2 separate regions of the Homo sapiens genome follow, and region 1 is linked to region 2. The links are contacts of gene promoters, found by promoter capture Hi-C in human tissues and cell types (Jung and others, 2019). All regions are on one chromosome and are shown on one strand. The core of a region is centred on a gene start or on the middle of the fragment in contact, and the rest is flanking DNA. Distances in the headings are between cores, read along the strand shown. Region 1 has its middle 100 kb from the start of LINC01060. Region 2 holds the start of TRIML2 (tripartite motif family like 2).

Evidence for each region. The method cuts DNA at HindIII sites, captures the fragments that hold promoters and counts their contacts. A contact is called where the count stands out against the background at its distance.
Region 1: a fragment that was not itself captured here is called in contact with the fragment with the promoter of TRIML2 in region 2 in 2 of the 25 tissues and cell types used here (IMR-90 fibroblasts and mesendoderm cells).

The regions. Positions count from the first base shown.
Region 1 is chr4:188,350,360-188,354,174 of GRCh38, forward strand. No RefSeq gene overlaps it. Among named protein-coding and RNA genes, the nearest start is that of LINC01060, 100 kb to the right of the region's middle. The HindIII fragment of the contact is 3,273 bases long and covers 130-3,402 here.
Region 2 is chr4:188,107,453-188,111,286 of GRCh38, forward strand. It overlaps TRIML2 (tripartite motif family like 2), which reads right to left and starts at 2,151. Exons shown (of 8, transcript NM_173553.4): 1 at 1,791-2,151. RefSeq lists enhancers at 145-663, 664-1,182. The HindIII fragment of the contact is 13,208 bases long and covers 1-3,834 here.

The sequences.
Region 1 (3,815 bases), core at 516-3,015, 240 kb after region 2:
AGTGATGCTGCATAATACAAGAAGAGGCTACCTTCATTTGATGTTCCTATGATTACTGTATGTCCGCCTCTACCGTGATACCGACTTGCTAAGGATTGCTAACATTTAGGCATACTTGCATCGTAACAACTTAACAGTTTAACTTTGACTACAAAGGCCAGTGAAGGGATCGTCTACTATAATTTTCAATTACGTTGAAATGTTTCCACAATAACTATCTTTAAACACTTTATGTGTCTAGAAATGCAGGTTACTTGGTGAAATCTAATCTCGATGGAAAGCTTTGATGCTCTGTATCAAATGAAAACCAATTTAAGCCATCTATGCTGCACATTAATATTAAGCAATTATATTAACTGAAAGCACTGTGAATACATGAATTGCTTTCATTAAAAAAAGATTTCCTTAATTACCTTCTAAGCAAATATTCTCCACTAAACTTTTTAAGTATTTGCAATACTCAAATAAAATAGGTAATGGAGATGTCAATTTACATGAAATACATATTTCTAAAAATCTAACTTGCATTGCAAGTTTAAAATATGTTTACAAAATCCAGAATTAAATATAATTTTATAAGGCTATTTTTATTTGGATACTGTTATGTTATTCGGAGAAAACAGTATTTCTTGTTTTTCATCCTTTACTAGCTCAAGGCTTGTCAGGATGCCACTCATATCATATTGTGATGTTATGATGTATGCCCATACCACTTTCTGTCTCAAGGAAAAGGTCTGTCTCCTCTTATCCACATTGGCCGCTGTGCCCATCTCTCTGGTTTCCATCTTGCTGGCACTAAGGTAGCCCCTCATGTTCACAGAGAAGAAAGGCTGAGGAGGTACATGGGTTTTTTGTGACCGCAAGCTTTTCAGTGCTTGTGTGACTCTAACTTCTGTGAAATTTCTTGATTTTCCTCAAGTAGGACTTCAGGGATTCATGGAATATAAAAGATGGAGCTAAAACAGACTATTTCCCACATGTTCTTAGGCTTAAATGTTGAAGTGTAAATGTTTAAGTTGTATTTATTTATTTAGGACAAATTATAATTGCATGTAATTGTGGGGTGCACAATGATGTTGTGATATATGCCCACAGTTTAGAATGATTGAATCAAGCCAATGACATATCCATCTTTTTTTTTTTTTGACAGAGTCTTGCTCTGTTGCCCAGGCTGGGGTGCAGTGGCAGGATCTCAGCTCACTGCAACCTCCACTTCCTGGGTTCAAGTGATTCTCCTGCCTCAGCCTCCCAAGTAGCTGGGACTACAGGTGCACACCACCATGCCCAGATAATTTTTTTTTTTGTATTTTTTAATAGAGATGGGGTTTCACCATGTTTGCCAGGATGGTCTTGATCTCTTGACCTTGTGAGCTGGCTGCCTCAGCCTCCCAAAGTGCTGGGATTACAGGCGTGAGCCACTGTGCCCGGCTCCCCATTTTAAATATATATCATTTATTCCTCCTGTTTAAAGCTTAATACCCTTTGACCGACACCTCTCATTTTCCCTACCCTCCAGCCTCTGGTAACCACCGTTCTACCCTCTGCTTCTGTGCATTTGACTTTTTAAAATTCCACATGAGTGAGATCACAGGGTATTTGTCTCTGTGCCTCACTTATTTCACTTAACATAGTGTCCTCCAGGTTCATCCATGTTGTAAATGAAATAATTTCTTTCTTTTTCTTTTTTTCTTTCTTTTTTTTTTAAGGCTGAAGAACATTCCATTGTGTGTATATATCTCATTTTCTTTTTCCATTTATCCATTGATTGACACTTAGATTGATTCCATGACTTGGCTATTGTAAACAATGCTGCAACAAACATGGAAGTGCTGATATCTCTTAGACATATTAATTTCAAGTCCTAAGGGTATATAGTTAGAATAGGGTTGCTGGAACATATGGTAATCCTATTTTTAGTTTTCTAAGGGAACTCCACACTGTTTTCTGTAATGGCTGTGCTAATTTATATTCCCACCAGTGTACAGTGTTCCCTTTTCTTCACATCCTCACCATCACGGTTGTTATCTTTCCTCTTTTTGTTGCTAGCTCTTCTGATAGATGATATATCATAGTTTTAATTTCTATTTCCCTAATGATTAGTGATATTGAGCATTATATATATATATATATATATATATATATATATATATGTATATATGTTGGCCATTTGCATGTCTTATTTTGAAAAATATTTATTCAGTTTCTTTGCCCATTTTTAAATTGGATTTTTTTTTTTTGCTATTAACTTTTTTGAGCTCCTTATACATTTGGGGTATTAGTTCCTTATATAATGTATTGCTTGTAAATTTTTTTCTGATCTGCAGATTGTCTCTTCACTTGTAGTTGTTTTCTTTGTTGTGCAAATATTTTTTAGTTAACTGTAATCTTACTTGTCTATTTTTGTTTTTGTTATTTGATCTTTTGGAGGTCAAATAAAAAAAAAAAAAAAAAAACATTGCCCAGACCAGTGTTGTGTAGTTTTCTCCTCTGTGTTTTCCTAGTACTTTTTATAATTTCAGGTTTTACATTTAAATCTTTAATTCATTTTGGGTTTATTTTTGTATACTCTGTGAGATAGGGTGGGACTAATATTATTCGTCTGCATGTGAATATCTCATTTTCTCATTGTCCTTTATGGGAGAGATTGTTCTTTACGCATTGTGTGTGTTCTTGGCATTTTTATCAAAGTCAATTGACGAAGGGCATCGGTTCATTTTTGTGCTCTCTATTCTGTTCCATTGGTCAGTGTTTCTGTTTATACTAGTGTCATGCTGTTTTAATTACTATGGCTTTGTAATATAGTTTGAAGTCAGGTAGTGTAAGACCTCTAGCTTTGTTCATTTTGTTCAAGACTGCCTTGGCTAGTCAGGCTTTTTTGTGTGTGTTTCTGTATGAATTTTACGATTTTTTTTTCTATTTCCATTTGCATGAAATATCTTTTTCTGTTACTTCACTTTTAGTCTATTTGAATCTTTAATAGTGAGGTAAGTCTCTTGTAGGTAGCATATAGTTGGGTTTTGTTTTTATACATCCTATTTCTTTGTCAAGCTTCTCATTTTGTATTATTTTTCATATTTTATTTAATCTTCTATCCTTATATTCTTATAGCTGACTGAACTTCTTTAAGAGAACTATATTAATTTTTTGTTAGTTATTTCATAGCTCTCCATTTCTTTAGGGCCTATTGTTGAAGCTTTATTTGTTTCTTCTGGAGATGTCATTATTCTGATTCTTCATAATCTTTGTGTCCTTACATTGGTGCTTGTGCATTTGAAGAAATGGTCACCTCTTCCGTCCTTTACAGGTATTCTTTGGCAAAGTTATACTCTCACTGAAGTCTAGCCTGTGATTCTAGGTCGGCTACCTGGTAATGGCGCTAAGCAGGTAGAGCTTGGCGTTAGACTCTCTAGCTTGCTGAGCCTCTGCCTTTGCTTTGAGATCAGATGGATCTGAGCTCTTCTATTTGGTGAGACCACTGGCTGGGTTCTGCAATCAGGCAGAGATGGTAGCTGGGTCCTCTGATTGGATGAAGACACAATGTGTATTCCCTAGTTAAATGGTACTGCTGTTTGACTTTTGGAATTTGGGTAGGGCTGCAGATTGGGTCCTAAGCTTAGGCTGAGTCACTGATTGGGAGAGTCAGGATCAGCTGCTAAGTTTGGCAGAAATGCACAATATTGAGGTTTACTTCCCTGCCTGGATGTAGCTTTGGTGTGGGATTTGAGGTTGAGGTGAGCTGCTATTTGAACTCCCAGACTGGGGTGGTCTAGCCCCTGTATGTAGCCAAGATATGCCATGGTGGGTGTCTCACTCCA
Region 2 (3,834 bases), core at 901-3,400:
GTTGAGAATCTTGGCCTGAAAAGGCATATTCCCCACAAATAGGACTGTGAATGAATGCATCCATAATTTTGATATGTTTTGTCAGTTTCCCAAGCACAAAAGTTGTACAATTTTGCACTCCAAGCAACAAATTAAAAAGATGTTAAACTTTTGGATCATTGCCCACTGGCTGGGTGAGAAATAGTGTATTCATATATTTTCAACTTCCATCTGTTATATTATTAATATGTCTAAGCCTTTTATTTTCATATGCTAAAAAACCATTTTCACTTCTTTTGCTGTGAAGTCTATGTTCAAGCCTCTCTCTCAGTTTATTCCATCAGGTTTGGCCTTTTTGGAGGGAGGGGTCAATTTTAAGAGAGAGCTATAGATCCAAGTTCCTGTAAATTGTGTGAGTTGCAAATACTTTCTCCCTCCTTCCTTGTTTTTGATGCTCTCATCCTTTCTTCTGCTTAGGTCTTTGAAATCCCTGCTGGTTTCCCGTGTCTTAGGTCCCTGAACATGTCCGAGATGACTCCACTGAGTCACCAAAACAAAGAAATTCACCAACTCAAATTTTTCCTTGAGCTCTCAGCAGCAGTTAACATAGCTGACCACACCCTTCTTCCTAGAATGTTTTCTTCTCTCATCTGTCTGCAGCTGACATTCCTCTAACTTGTCTGGTCTTGTTCTCCGTGGCCTTTTCTGGTCCCACATCCTCTGAACCTCTCAATCTTGGGGTGCTTCAAGGTTGAGTTCTGGTCTCCCAGTCCTGGTCTCTCCCTAGGTAATCTTACTCGTTTCTGAAGATTTAAGTTCCATTCTCCGATTTCAATCTCCTGCCCAATTCCCAACATTTTTGCAATAGAATGTCTAAGGAGCACTCAAAATTAACATATCTAAAGCCGCTCAGGATCTCAACCCAGTGGCTCTCTTCCCCCAAACTCATTCCTTTAGAGCCACAGTTTAAGCCTTCCTTTCACCAATTCAACTATTGTTTTCCAAATTTATATTCTGTCCTGCCCTCCTCGTCCATCTCCAGCTCCTCTCTGCTCAACCACCAGAATACTATTTTAAAACCAAAACCAAGTGAGCAGGTTTGTGGTCACTTTCTATGGCATTAGAGTAAGATCGAAGTGGGTAATAACCCCGTCCTATACAATCTGGCCTCCTGCCTTCTTCTGATCTCTCTATAGCTTTCCCCCATCACTGTCAATCTAGCTGCCTCTAATTCATCACAGCCCTTCCCCCTTCCGTGGCCAACAGAGCTCTTCTCTCATATTTTTGCAATTCCAGCTGCCTCTTCTTTCTTCTCTTCAGTTCTCAGCTCAAATGTCTTCCCAAGAGAGACCTTTCCATCACTACTCAATTTGAAATACCTTCCCACTACTCATCTCCTTATTTTATTTTCTTAGTAGCGAAAAGATTTTATCTTTCTATGAACAAGTTTACTTGTGGGTCACTCTCCATCCATAAGAAACTAAGTCCTTGAGATGCCCTGTGTCTACATCTGACATACTCGATGCACAATAAATATTGTAAACGATATTTTATGTTAAACCAGTAAAAATTGAAGGTGTAATGAGAGAGGGACAGAGACTAAATATTTTTACAGAAACAGCAAAGGAAAATTGACGAATTAAGTCCCCAGCATGTTGTCTACCCTTATTTTGTTTTTCCTAATATTTTTCTTCAGGCTTTTTCCTGATAACACACAGATACACACACACACACATAGATTCTAAGATCAAGTTTAGAAATCTAAAGAAACAATTATTAAGAAAATGATCTATAGAGAAAATCTCACTTACTTTCTTTGTAGCAATCCTGGGTATTTCCTTTTTTTTTTTTTTTTTTTTTTTTGAGACAGGGTCTTGCTCTGTCACCCAGGCTGGAATGCAGTGGCGCAATCTCGGCTCACTACAGCCTCGAGCTCCCAGGCTCAAGTGATTCTCCCACCTTGACCTCCTGAGTAGCTGGGATTACAGGCGCTGCACGACCACACCCGGCTAATTTTTGTATTTTTTGTAGAGACGGGGTTTCAGTATTTTTCCCAGGCTGGTCTTGAACTCCTGGGCTCAAGCAATCTGCCTGCTTCAGCCTCCCAAAGTACTGGGATTACAGGAATGAGTCACCACACCGAACCAAGGTATTTCCTTTAGGGAAAAAGCTGGAACAGTGGAGACTGAAGAGATTTTATCTGTTCAATTCCTCCCTCAGCCCCGCCCTCACACCATCAGGAAGGCGTCTGTGAAGTTTCTTATCATATTCACACAATTAATCTCATTAGAACCACCTGAGTTTATTAAAACGCAAGCCTCTTCACAGGGTCTCTGATTCCAGAAATCTACGGTGGGGTCCGTAATTTACATTTTTAATGGACTCCCAGAAAATGCTTAATAGCCCTGACCTTGGTTGGATAAATATCTTGTTTTATCTCCAGTGCCATGTACAGTGCCTAACACCTCTAGCTCCTTAAGGTTTGGGGTTTTCTTTCTTAATGAATCTAGTGTATATTGACAATTTCACAGGAAAGAAGCCTTCGAGCTAACACTCAAGACTGTGTTTGTTCCTTAGTAGAAAATAATGCCTGACTTGTTAGTTTCTAGAACGTTTGCTGGAGAAGTGTTCATTCCAGTATCTGTGGAAAGAAAAACCAAGAGTAGGGATAACTGCCTATGGAATCTGTCACAGATGGGAGGTCAGGGAACAATCCCAGATAATTCATACTTGATATTTGGCTTCAGTGAGGAGGAACTCTTCACAGCTTTCTAAGTTTTATAGTTTTGTCCCCGAGGGTTTTTATTGCATCAGTCAGTCAATCCCCTGCTAATCAAACCAGGGAGTTTTTTTCTTTATGCTGCTGACAGGATAATGAGAATTCTTCTGCTTTGCTTATCTGATCTTTCAGAACCTGGTTCTACCTTATGGAATCTCAATACACCGTTTCTCTTTTTCTTTTTTCTTTCTTTTTTTTTTTTTTTAGATGAGAGTCTCACTCTGTTGCCTAGGCTGGAGTGCGGTGGAGCGATCTCGGCTCACTGCAGCCTCCGCCTCCCAGGTTCAAGCAATTTTCCCACTTCAGCCTCCCGAGTAGCTGGGATTATAGGCGCCCACCACACCCAGCTAATTTTTGTATTTTTAGTGGAGATGGGGTTTCACCATGTTGGCCAGGCTGGTCTCAAACTCCTGACCTCAGGTGACCCACCCTCCTTGGCCTCCAAAAGTTCTGGCCACCGCGCCTGGCCATACACCCTTTCTCTTATCTCAGATGATTACCTACACCCACTCTCTTTTCCAAAACCCAATTCCCCAGCTTTCTTCAAATAGACCACATTTATTCCTGTGCCCCCTCCCCTCCTCAGCCAGTCCATCCTCCTTTACTTCTCTTATTTTTCTAATCCAATCTTCCTTTCTCTTCTAAGCCTGGGTACGGCCAACGTCTGTGAAGATACTCACACATACTTGTTGTCAGATACTCTGTCATTTACTCTCACCATCCCTTGAGCTTTCATAACTCTTGAGCTTACTCATCTTGACAAGAAAACTTTGTAATCTTTGAATCAAATGGAAAATAAACATCAAGCATATTGTCAGGTTTTGAAGTCTCTTAAAGCCTGTTTTAGAGTATTAAATGCTTAAATAAATACTTATTAAAGCCTGTTTTACTATTAAATAAATATTTATTAATAATTAAATTATTAATTCTAGAAGAGTCAATATTTTAAGATAATTCTAAAAACATTACAAAAAAGTGTGCTAAACCCTTATTTACTGTTACATGCCCCACCTGTTGCATGCTCCAACCCCGTGAGGTACATCTGCAGCTGATGAAGTAGATGACGTAGAGATTAA